Linked DNA regions of Homo sapiens: region 2 is linked to region 1. Evidence: promoter capture Hi-C in 16 types of primary human blood cells and fetal thymus (Javierre and others, 2016). All regions are on one chromosome and are shown on one strand. The core of a region is centred on a gene start or on the middle of the fragment in contact, and the rest is flanking DNA. Distances in the headings are between cores, read along the strand shown.

Region 1 (6,079 bases), core at 3,580-6,079:
AAAGTCCCTCTGATCTGGTCACTACCATTCTCTTAGTGCAACTCAAGACTCGTTAGTATTTTTTGGCATTGTCAACCCACAGTGAACTAGGACCTAGTTCTCTTTTTCACACATGCTACCATTAAGCTCTATCTCCTCATCCTTAAATGTCTTGCACTAAATAGGGCATTAAAACCCTTTATTGCAATGCTTCCCATTTTATAAGCCTGGGTTTATTCTGGACTTTAGCCCTTATGACTCAATTCCTAGAGGTTTGTGATATTCTTTGGGCTTTGTCCTTGGAAGCATAGTCCTCCTTCTGTCATCTATACATGCACTTTTAAGATCTGAGCTCATCAGAGAATAATCTATAAGGACACTGTAGTTTATTAGAAATCTCTCCCTTTTTAATTTATCATTGGAACTTTTCCAAATTCTACAGTTCTGAATTTTCAACTGGATCCCTCTCCCTTTTAAGCTATCTTTCTCTTTTGGTGTTAGGCCAGATCATACTTATCTTTTCTCTGATCCTTTTGAAGTCTACCTTACACATACACATACATACACCGCACACACACACACACACACACACACACACACACACACACACACACGTTAATTAACCTATGTGACCATGCCCAGCAATTTTTTTTTTTTTTTTTTAGTTTTTTTGCTTAACAGATATCCAGATGACAGGATCACTTTCCCCAAGATTCTTGTCACTTTCACTTTGCTAACCAAATCTTCCTTATTTATTATCAGGATTAAGCCCAGCTTAGCAATTTACCTCATTGCTTCTTTATTCTTTTGAGAACTGTAATTACACTGTATCAGCAAGAGAGCCAAGAATCTATCAGATGTTTTCTTAAATTTAAGATGGTCTTAAAAATAAGAAAAAAGAATGTATCAGATATGTTGCTATCAGAATAACTTCCAGCAGATATTCAGATGTTCTATGTCTCTGATCACCCTTTCCTGTTCGTCTATGTGACAGTTTTATGAAATGCCATTCATACTTTTATTTATTTTATTTATTTTTTATTTTTATTTTTATTTTGAGATGGAGTCTCGCTCTGTCACCCAGGCTGGAGTGCAGCGGCACGATGTGGGTTCACTGCAACCTCTGCCTCCCGGGTTCAAGCGATTCTCCTGCCTCAGCCTCCTGAGTAGCTAGGATTACAGGCCTGAGTCACCGCACCTGGCTGATTTTTGTATTTTTAGTAGAGACGGGGTTTTACCATGTTGGCCAGGCTGATCTCAAACTCCTGACCGCAGGTGATCCACCTGCCTCGGCCTCCCAAAGTGCTGGGATTATAGGCGTGAGCCACCGCGCCCGGCCCCATTCATACTTTTAATCTGAGAAGTCTCTTGTATACTTCTACAACTATAATCACTTTCATTTCTCCGTTTCATTCTCACTGAATGCTTTTCACCCTCCAGCCAATGAATTACTAGTTATACCTTCTTGACATATTACTGCTCTCTTCTTCTGTATGGTATCTCTGAATCAAGTTTTCCAGATGCCAGCCAGAAGTTCCACCCTCCCAAGTCTAAACAATACCTATAAAATTGCATTTTCCTGAGTGTATTAAAATTTTACATTCCCGGCCAGTCGCTGCGGCTCATGCCTGTAATCCCAGCACTTTGGGAGGCCAAAGCAGGCAGATCACCTGAGGTCAGGAGTTTGAGAGCAGCCTGGCCAACATGGTAATAACCTGTCTCTACTAAAAATACAAAAATTAGCCAGGCGTGGTGGTGGCGTGCCTGTAATCCCAGCTACTCAGGAGGCTGAGGCTGAAGAACCGCTTGAACCTAGGAGGTGGAGGTTGCAGTGAGCGGAGATCGCGCCATTGCACTCCAGCCTGGGCGACAAGAGCAAAACTCTGTCTCAAAAAAAAAAAAATTACATTCCCTTTATTACCCATATTCTGGGTGTTGGTACATAGATATCTGAGGCCTTAAAAGTGTCATTTCTGACTCTCTTCCTTGTTTTTCCTTGAGAATTACTAGGCATTGCCTTAGCTTTAGTTCCTCTTAATTAGACTTATATTTTACATAGCTTCCAGAAACACAATAATTACTAACACAGCACTATGTCTCAATGGAGGAATTAGTTTTGATTAACTGACCAGCCATATATCATTATCAACATCATCATCATCATCATCATCATCATCATTAATATTCTTCTCGGCTGGGTGCAGTGGCTCATACCTGTAATCCCAGCAATTTGGAAGGCTAAGGTGGGAGGATCACTTGAGCCTAGGAGTTTGAGGCTGCAGTGAGCTATGATCGTGCCGCTGCACTCCAGCCTGGGTGACAGAATGAGACTCTATTTTCTATTTTCCTGGATGCTTGCTCCTTGTTTCTTTTTCCTTCTTTTTTAAAAAGTTTTTAAACTTTCAGACTTTTTTAAATGTTGCAAAAATAGTACAAAAATGTCCTTATATCCTTTATTCAACTTCTCTAAATCTTACATAACCACCATAACCAAGAATAGTATTGGTAATCTACAGATATTCAAACCTCACCAATATAACCAATGTCCTTTTTCTGGTACAGGAGCCGGTTGAGTGTCATATATTACATTCAGTTGTCAAGTATCTTTAGTCTCCTTTAATCTGTGACAGTTCCTTAGTCTCTTTGTCTTTCATGATCTTAACAGTTTCGAGAATATCTGACTCCTTAAAATACACGCGGTGATAGGTGACTACGGGAGCTCCAGCTCACCGTGGATTTAGCAAAATACCAAGTGATGACAAGAAGTTGCTTTTAAATGACCCATCTTGTATTTCATCGTCAATAAAACCACACTTAGTTACCCAAAGACTGAGAAGGGAAAAATTCTATGTAATTATTTGATCATCTTTTTTTGTGGAGAGAAAAAAAACTGACAAAACAATGAGCTCTGGAATAGAATACAGTAGAGGCATCATGCTCAAAGAGAGTAGCAGATGTGGCCAGGGAAAGGTCACATGTAGAAAAGGGATACACAAGTGATGGCGAGGTGTATCGAGGAATAATTAACAGTTGAATAAAAATGCATTAATCAGAATGTCAAGAGTTCAAACTAGAAAGATTTTGAATTTTAAATGCATTATAAATAAAATCCACCTCTCTCCAAATAAAGCCCTCTGTAGAATTTTGCTTTAGCTCTTGTTTCTCTCACCAGAATAGAGAAGCGAGTATCACCTTTGGAGGATATACTCTACCATTCTCTGAAACTGTTTTTTTGCATTCAGCTACCTCGCTATTATAATCAGCTGAGAAACACCATAGCCTTTCACTAACACAGGTCAAAGATTTCTCCCAGGATCAACAAAGCTAGATTCAAAATTGCTCCTTTGAACACATGCAATTTGTGTGCATCAGTTTCGATCGCTGGGGTTCTTGAGGAGACTAACAAATTGCAAAGTGTACTTTCAGAGGAAGGGCCTAACCATCCTGGGGGGTCCTAGAATTGGGTCCTTTCACAGGCAGATCTGGAGAAGATAGGAGAGGGCAGGAAAGGAAAGTGAAGGATATGAACACTATGTGTTCAGTGTGCAAAGGCCTGCTGGCATTTTGCCTATGGGAATTCTGAAGTCTGGGCACATAAGGTTCAGCTGCAGTTGCAGTTTTCAACAGTCGTCCTTATTTTTATAAACATTGTTATGATTATTCAGACACGGAACTTGTGATTACACTATTTGCTCCTGTTCTGAACTTGAGGGAGTCCACTTAAGCTAACAAGTAGGTTTTTGAGGACATGTGTGGCAAATGCTTACCCAGTGAAGGGATTAAGGGGCTCAGTAAGCACTTGTCCATTGGCACAATGGCTGCCAATCTAATTCTATTGATTCCTCTAAATGTTTCTGGAGTTCAGAAATCTATTCAATCCAAGGGCACTTTACCTGGGGTCCTGGGAGCCAAATGTTAACGTAGTTCTTAACCTTCCTAAGCCTCTTAACCTTCTGGGTACAACCTCTATATTTGTCTTCTGGCTAAAATCATTTCCCCACCCCCAGCCCAGTCCTTTGGACTCTCCCAGGCCAATTCCTGGCAAGATCTTTGTCGAACTGTATTTGCAAACCAGGGTCTGGGGCACGGTGGCAGTTCCTTCGTCTGCTGTTCCCTTAATTTCGTCTGGTTTCACTGGCTCCAGGACAGCACACGGTCTAGAGTGGGAAGAGTGAGGCATTCACCTTGGTGAAAAACAACTCAGTAATTAAGACAAATGATTTTTCATGTACTATTTTAAAAAAATCAGAAGCAATGCAAAAATCCATGATGAACAAATGATCAACATTTGAAATACAGACAGGATCCCAACCTGCACTTGCATGACCTTGTCTCGCTTGCCTCACCCTAAACCCAGCCTTGACACTCCAATTAAACTTTATTTACAAAACAAGGGGGCCGGCCAGTAGGATGTAGTTTGCCCATACGACTTTTTTAAAGTATCGCATTGACTACTGTTTATCTCGATGACTGAAGGGTTCTTTTGGCATCCCTGTAGCAAATGCGTCTCACCCTAGTCCTGGTCCTGCTCCAAGGGTTTTTGTCCAGGCACATCGTGACCTCACCCTTCCTCCCCTCTCCGAGGCCTCTCTCAGGGTCCAGCGTTCAAGTCCCGGGTGTTCTCTGGACCCGCCCCTTCCTCTCGCCGGGTCAGGTGCCGAGGGCGAGCACGGGCGGCGCGGAGAGCAGTCCCGGCCCGCCCTCCACGACTCCTCCTCCTGCGAGCTGGGCCACTCAGCGGCTCTGCCGCCCAGCGCGCCGGGGCCCAGACCCCGCCCCGGCCCCGCCTCCGACGCCTGCCGCTCCAGCTCCGGCTCCCCCTATATAAATCGGCCATTTGCTTCGCTCCGCCCCGCAGCGCCGGAGTCAAAGCCGGTTCCCGGCCCAGTCCCGTCCTGCAGCAGTCTGCCTCCTCTTTCAACATGACAGATGCCGCTGTGTCCTTCGCCAAGGACTTCCTGGCAGGTGGAGTGGCCGCAGCCATCTCCAAGACGGCGGTAGCGCCCATCGAGCGGGTCAAGCTGCTGCTGCAGGTACGTCCTGGGATCCAGGAGCCCAACCAGGAAGTGGGGGGAAGGGTCGCACAGAAGGCGGGCGCCCGAGGGGTGGCGGGGAGCGAACTCTAAAGACATGGCCAGGGAAGCGGCTTAGGAGAGGCCAGAGCGGGGCGCAGAGGCAGAACAGAAGTCAAACTGGTGGGAGGCGCCTTTAGTGACCTGAAGTAGTGAGTCTAGGAAGGGGCCGGGGGCAGAGGGCAGGACCAGGCTCTCGGCATCTCCGAGGCGGCGGACTCGGATGGAGCAGTTTCTGAGTGACGGCCTCCCCGGGCCTGGGCGTCAAGGGCGAAGGCCGAAAGCCGGCGTTAGAAAGAGGAACGCCAGTTCTTACCGAAGACCTCAAGGTCGCGGCAAGGAGATAACTGCCCGGGGGAGGCCATGCGCCCGGGTCCAGCGGCCTCCCAGCCCGCGGACGCGCTCAAACCTCGCCGGGCCGGAAGCCGGCGCCGGGAAGCGCGTGTGCCTTTTACGTCCGCCCCCGCGCAGCCGCGGCCGCTGCCGCCGCGTCTCCGCCTGCCTCCCTGCGCCGCGCGCTCTCCAGTGCCGGCTCTAGAGGGCGCTCCTGGGCTAGCGTGTAGGGCTGGCGGCGGCGGCGCTCGGGTCACCTCTGGGAGCGGAGTGGGGGCGGAGCGAGACGGAAGCAGCTCAGGAGACTTGAGGCGTAGGCTGCGGTCCCCAAGGTGACCGCGCCCTATGTGGGACTCGCCCTAATGCCTCTGAACCTGGGTTTGAGGTAATGACCTTTCTCCTAGGTCTGAAGGTCACGGGTCCGCTGGAGGATGCCCCCTCTCCACTCAGAGGGGTGGAGGCTTAATGCTACTGGTGCAGATCACCTCTTCCCCTGTGACAGCCTCAGAGGGTTGGGAGGGTCCAGCCAGTATGATATACGAAGACTAGATTTGAGAGAGGGGAGCCTACCTTAAAGGGCATTGATCGAGATGGCATAAGCTCTTCTCTTTCCCTTCCCCATGGTTATAACTGTCCCTGTTGGCTTCCTTCCTGTCTGTTAGGTGCAGCATGCCAGCAAGCAGATCACTGCAGAT
Region 2 (6,079 bases), core at 1,119-3,618, 280 kb after region 1:
GAGTAAATGATACAGTGTAGGAAGTTTTCTGTACAGTTGGACAAAACTTTTTCAGCATTTTCAGCTTTGTATTTGCTAGATACTGTTTCAATAATAAAATCCACAAAGAATTTATTTATTTATTTTGAGATAAGAGTCTCCCTCTGTCACCCAGGCTGGAGTATAGTGGCAGCATTGTAGCTCACTGCAGCCTTTAACTCCTGGGCTCAGGCGATCCTCCCACTTGAGCCTTCTGAGTAGCTGGGACCACAGGCGCATGCCACCACTCCAGGCTATTTTTATTTTTTAATTTTTTGTAGTGACAGGGTCTCGTTTTGTTGCCCAGGCTTATCTCAAACTCCTGGCCACAAGTGATACTCCCACCCCAGCCTCCCAGAGTGTTCGGATTACAGGTGTGAGTCACCATGCCCAGCCAAAAAACTACTTTTTTGTGTGTGGTCTACCAAAGGAGAAATGTAAAGGAGAAGATATATTATGAACACAAAGTGACTTGTTTACTTTTGTAACATCTTATAGGAAAACTGGAAATAAAGATTTTTACACTGATGAAGTGCTACTCTGACAGGAAACTTTCCAAAAGTGGGGGTGGATTTCAAGGTAACTTTACTGAGAAAGTTGGCGAGCTATCACAGCAAAGATATTGAAGCCTGAAATGTACAAAGTGCTATAGGATTCATTAATCTGGTTAACGGTATAAAAATAAGACTTTTTTTTTTTTGGAAACAGGGTCTCACTCTGTTGCCAAGGCTGGAGTACAGTAGCACAATGTCGGGTCACTGCAACCTCTGCCTCTGGGTTCAAGTGATTCTCCTGCCTCAGCCTACCAAATAGCTGAAATTACAGGCACGTGCCACCAAGCCCAGCTAATTTTTGTATTTTTAGTTGAGACAGGGTTACTCCTTGTTGGCCAGGCTGGTCTCAAACTCCCGACCTCAAATGATCTACCCTCATCGGCCTCCCAAAGTGCTGCGGTTACAGGCATGAGCCACCGTGCCTGGCAAAATAAGACTTGATATACAGTAATTTTTTTTTTTTTTTAGACAGTCTCACTCTTTCGCCCAGGCTAGAGTTCAGTGGTGTGATCTCAGCTCACTGCAACCTCCACCTCCCAGGCTCATGCAATTCTCCTGCCTCAGTCTCCCAAGTAGCTGGGACCACAGGTGCGTGTCACCAGGCCCGGCTTTTTTTTTTTTTTTTTTTTTGTATTTTTAGTAGAGATGGGGGTTTCACCATGTTGGCCAGGCTGGTCTCAAACTCCTGACCTCAGGTGATCCTCCCTCCTTGGCCTCCCAAAGTGCTGGGATTACAGGTGTGAGCCACCGTGCCCAGCCAATATACCAGTAAAATCTTTAAAGAATTCTATTATGTAAGTCCTTAAAAGAGTTTTCAAACTAAAAGATGCACTTTTTTTTCCACATAAAGATACGCATTTCAAATTTACTGACATTTTCAGGGGTGTCTTAGAGTAGTCAGAAGACTTTTTTTTTTTTTTTTTGCCGTGAGGTTTTGCTCTTGTTGTCCAGGCTGGAGTGCAATGGTGCAATCTCGGCTCATTGAAACTTCCGCCTCCCAGGTTCAAGCGATTCTCCTGCCTCAGCCTCCTGAGTAGCTGGGATTACAGGCACCTGCCACCATGCCCAGCTAATTTTTTTGTATTTTTAGTAGAGACAGAGTTTTGCCATGTTGGCCAGCCTAGTCTCAAACTCCTGGTCTCAGGTGATCCGCCAGTCTCGGCATCCCAAAGTGCTGGGATTACAGGTGTGAGCCACCGCGCCCAGCCAGGAGACTTTTAAAAAAAAATCATAATAAACACAGCCCATCCAGTTCTTCAAGATAAAGTTGATATTTTAACAATGAGTGAGAAAGTAACTGCTTTGGAAGGAAATGCAGAACAGGCAGAGAACATTTGGAAAATGGATGTTTGTGTTTTCATTGTTATGTAATTTTGTGGCCAAAAATGATGTAAGTAGCATACCTAGAAAACCTATCATATCTGCACATTTTAAAACTTCAGAATAAAAATTCCTAACCTGCTTTTTAAACATATTTCAAATGTAGAGTTTTTTGTGGGTTTTCGGCACATTTGTTAAAAACACAAAGGTGCAACAAGTACTTACCGTTTTGCAAGAACAAATGATTGCCATCAGCAAAAATGACCGTTTACCAACTGAATTTCATCAGAAACCTTTGCATAATTGGTGGGTGGAATTGAAAAACAAGAATTATGATGTACTAAGCCCAGCCAATTAAATTTTTCTTCCATTTGGAGCTGTGTATCTTTGTGAGACATCTTGCTTATGTGTGACATCCACTAAAACTGAGTGCTGCAATAAAGTAAGATCCGCACCTTCAAAGAGCTGCATTATAGTGTTAACCTAAGAACGGTCATAGTAGCCTAGCACTTTTTTTTTTTTTTTTTTGAGACGGAGTCTTGCTCTGGTGCCCAGGCTAGAGTGCAGTGGCGAGGTCTCGGCTCACTACACCTCCACCTCCTGAGTTCAAGTGATTCTCCTGCCTCAGCCTCCCGAGTAGCTGGGACAACAAGCGTGTGCCACCACACCCAGCTAATTTTTTATTTTTAGTAGAGACGGTTTTTCAACATGTTGGCCAGGCTGGTCTCGAACTTCTGACATCAGGTGATTCACCTGCCTTGGCCTCCCAAAGTGCTGGGATTACAGGTGTGAGCCACCGCACCCAGCCAGCACTTTCTAATAACAATGATGTTAGATTTTTAAAAAATGGCTAAGTAAAGTGGCTCACCCCTGTAATTCCAGTACTTTGGGAGGCCAAGGTGAGTAGATTGCTTGAGCCCAGGCGTTCGAGACCAGCCTGGGCAACATGGTGAAACTCATCTCTACAAAAAATACAAAAATTAGCCTGGCATGGTGACACACGCCTGTAGTCCCAGATACTTGGGGGCCTGGGGGTGAGGATCACTTGAGCCCAGGAGGTTGAGGTTGCAGTGAGCTGTATTCTTAACACTGCACTCCAGCCTGGGGAACAGAGTGAGACCCTGTCTCAAAAAAAGAAAAAAAAAAAGATGTTTTAAAAACGAAGCATATGCAATCACATTCTCTTGTGAAAAAATTAATAATAAAATTTTAATGAATATCCAAATAGTTTTGTACTACAAGCATTATAAAACTGTAAATTATTTTAAACTATATTTTATCTTTGTCTCATCCTTTTAAAATTTCCTTTTTGTGTATGCTTTATAATATACATATTTCATAGAGTAATACACACACATCATTTTGAAATTGCAAAATATTCACGAATGTTGAGAATATCTGCTCAAAATATTTTTATTATAGGGGCATGCAATTTAAAACGTTGGGACACCAGCCTTGGCAATATGGTGAGATCCCATCTCTAAAACAATTTTTAAAAAATTAGCTGGGACTGGGTGCAGTGGCTCACGCCTGTAATCCCAGCACTTTGGGAGGCCAAGGCAGGCGAATCTCCTGAGGTCAGGAGTTTGAGACAACATGGCGAAACCCTGCCTCTACTAAAAATCAAAAAAATTAGCTGGGCGTGGTGGTGGGCACCTGTAATCCCAGCTACTCGGGAGGCTGAGGCAGGAGAATCGCTTGAACCCGGAAGGTGGAGGTTGCAGTGAGCCAAGATGGCATCATGGCACTCCAGCCTGGGCAACAAGAGCGAAATTCTGTCTCAAAAAACAAACAATTAGCTGGGCATGGTGGCACATGCCTGTACTCCCAGCTACTCAGGAGGCTGAGGTGGGAGGATGGTTTGAGCCCAGGAGTTAGAAGCTGCAGTGAGCTATGATGGTGCCACTGCACTCCAGCCTGGGTGACACAGCCAGATTCCCATCTCAAAAAAAAAAAAATTGGAGATTATTGCTTTAATATCTACCATAATGTTAAGCATCATGAATGTGATGTGATTAGCATAGTGTTTGGCACATATTAAGGCCTCAATGAGTGTTGGCTTTTACAACATCCTCTATGTAAATGAGGGATGCATTAGACCCAGTGTAACATGATGGTTAAAAGTATGAGCCTTGGAATCAGTTGAAGCTGGATGGGTTTCCTGCCAATTACTAGCTGTGTGAACGTGGTCAATTAACTTCATTGGGCCTCAGATTCTCATTAGTCTCTTAGAGTTGTTGTAAAGATTAAGGGACATAATGCACTTTATGGCAACAGCTTTACTGAGCTATAATTCACATACCATACAATTCACTTTTTTTTTTAAACGAAGTTTAGCTTTCGTTGGGCAGGCTGGGGTGTAATGGTGTGATCTCGGCTCACTGCAACTTCCACTTCCCAGGTTCAAGCGATTTTCCTGCCTCAGCCTCCTGCGCAGCTGGGATTACAGGCATGCACCACCAAGCCCGGCTAATTTTGTATTTTTAGTAGAGATGGGGTTTCATCAAGTTGGCCAGGCTGGTCTTGAACTCCTGAGCTCAGGTGATCTGCCCACCTCGGCCTCCCACCGTGCTTGGATTACAGCCATGAGCCACTGCGCCCAGCAACTCACCACTTTAAAGTGTATATTTCAGTGCTTTTTAGTATATTCACAAGGCTGTGCAACCATCACCGTGTCTGGAATTGGTGGGTTTTTGGTCTCACTGACTTCAAGAAGGAAGCCGCGGACCCTCGCGGTGAGTGTTACAGCTCTTAAGGTGGCGCGTCTGGAGTCTGTCCCTTCTGATGTTCAGATGTGTTTGGAGTTTTTTTCTTCTGGTGGGTTCGTGGTCTCACTTGCTCAAGAGTGAAGCTGCAGACCTTCCCGGTGAGTGTTACAGCTCTTACGGCAGCGCGTGGGGAGTTGTTCATTCCTCCCAGTGGGCTCGTAGTCTCACTGGGCTCAGGCGTGAAGCTGCAGATTTTGGCGGTTAAGTGTTACAGCTCATAAAAGCAGCGTGGACCTAAAGAGTAAGCATTAGCAAGATTTATTGCAAAGAGTGAAAGAACAAAGCTTCCACAGTGTGGTAAGGGACGGGAGCGGGTTGTCAATGCTGCTTCGGGCAGCCTGCTTTTATTCTCTTATCTGGCCCCACCCACATCCTGCTGATTGGTAGAGCCCAGTGGCCTGTTTGGTCAGGGCGCTGATTGGTGCGTTTACAATCCCTGAGCTAGATACAAAGGTTCTCCACGTCCCCATCAGATTAGTTAGATACAGAGTTTTGACACACAGGTTCTCCAAGGCCCCACCAGAGCAGCTAGATACAGAGTGTCGATTGGTGCATTCAAAACCTTGAGCTAAACACAGGGTGCTGATTGGTGTGTTTACAAACCTTGAGCTAGATACAGAGTGCCGATTGGTGTATTTACAATCCCTGAGCTAGACATAAAGGTTCTCCAAGGCCCCACCAGAGCAGCTAGATACAGAGTGTCGATTGGTGCACTCACAAACCTTGAGCTAAACACAGGGTGCTGATTAGTGTATTTACAATCCCTCAGCTAGACATAAAGACTCTCCACTTCCCCACCAGACTCAGGAGCCCAGCTGGCTTCACCTAGTGGATCCCGCACTGGGGCCGCAGGTGGAGCTGCCTGCCAGTCCCGTGCCGTGTGCTTGCACTTCTCAGCCCTTGGGCGGTCGATGGGACTGGGCGCCGTGGAGCAGGGGGTGGTGCTCGTCGGGGAGGCTGGGGCCGCACAGGAGCCCATGGAGTGGGTGGGAGGCTCAGGCATGGCGGGCTGCAGGTCCCGAGCCCTGCCCCGCGGGAAGGCAGCTAAGGCCCAGCGAGAAATCCAGCACAGCGCCGGTGGGCCGGCACTGCTGGGGGACCCAGTACACCCTCCACAGCCACTGGCCACTGGCCTGGGTGCTAAGTCCCTCATTGCCCGGGGCCGGCAGGGCCGGCCGGCTGCTCCGAGTGCGGGGCCCGCCAAGCCCACGCCCACCCAGAACTCCAGCTGGCCCGCAAGCGCTGCGCGCAGCCCCGGTTCCTGCTCGCGCCTCTCCCTCCACACCTCCCTGCAAGCTGAGGGACCTGGTTCTGGTCTTGGCCAGCCCAGAAAGGGGCTCCCTCAGTGCAGCGGCGGGCGGAAGGACTCCTCAAGTGCCGCCAAAGTGGGAACCCAAGCAGAGGAGGCGCCGAGAGCAA

The links. Contacts are between HindIII fragments. The CHiCAGO score rates a contact against its expected background, and 5 or more counts as called.
Region 2: a fragment that was not itself captured here is called in contact with the fragment with the promoter of SLC25A5 in region 1 in 1 of 17 cell types (naive B cells); the score reaches 5.4 in naive B cells.

What each region holds. Positions count from the first base shown.
Region 1 is chrX:119,463,615-119,469,693 of GRCh38, forward strand. SLC25A5 (solute carrier family 25 member 5) reads left to right here and starts at 4,830. Exons shown (of 4, transcript NM_001152.5): 1 at 4,830-5,012; 2 at 6,047-6,079. The coding sequence starts at 4,902. It overlaps SLC25A5-AS1 (SLC25A5 antisense RNA 1), which reads right to left and starts at 5,506. Exons shown (of 1, transcript NR_028443.1): 1 at 2,419-5,506. RefSeq lists silencers at 4,510-4,889, 5,380-5,619. The HindIII fragment of the contact is 10,795 bases long and covers 1-6,079 here.
Region 2 is chrX:119,745,275-119,751,353 of GRCh38, forward strand. No RefSeq gene overlaps it. Among named protein-coding and RNA genes, the nearest start is that of SOWAHD, 10 kb to the right of the region's middle. The HindIII fragment of the contact is 5,147 bases long and covers 1-4,942 here.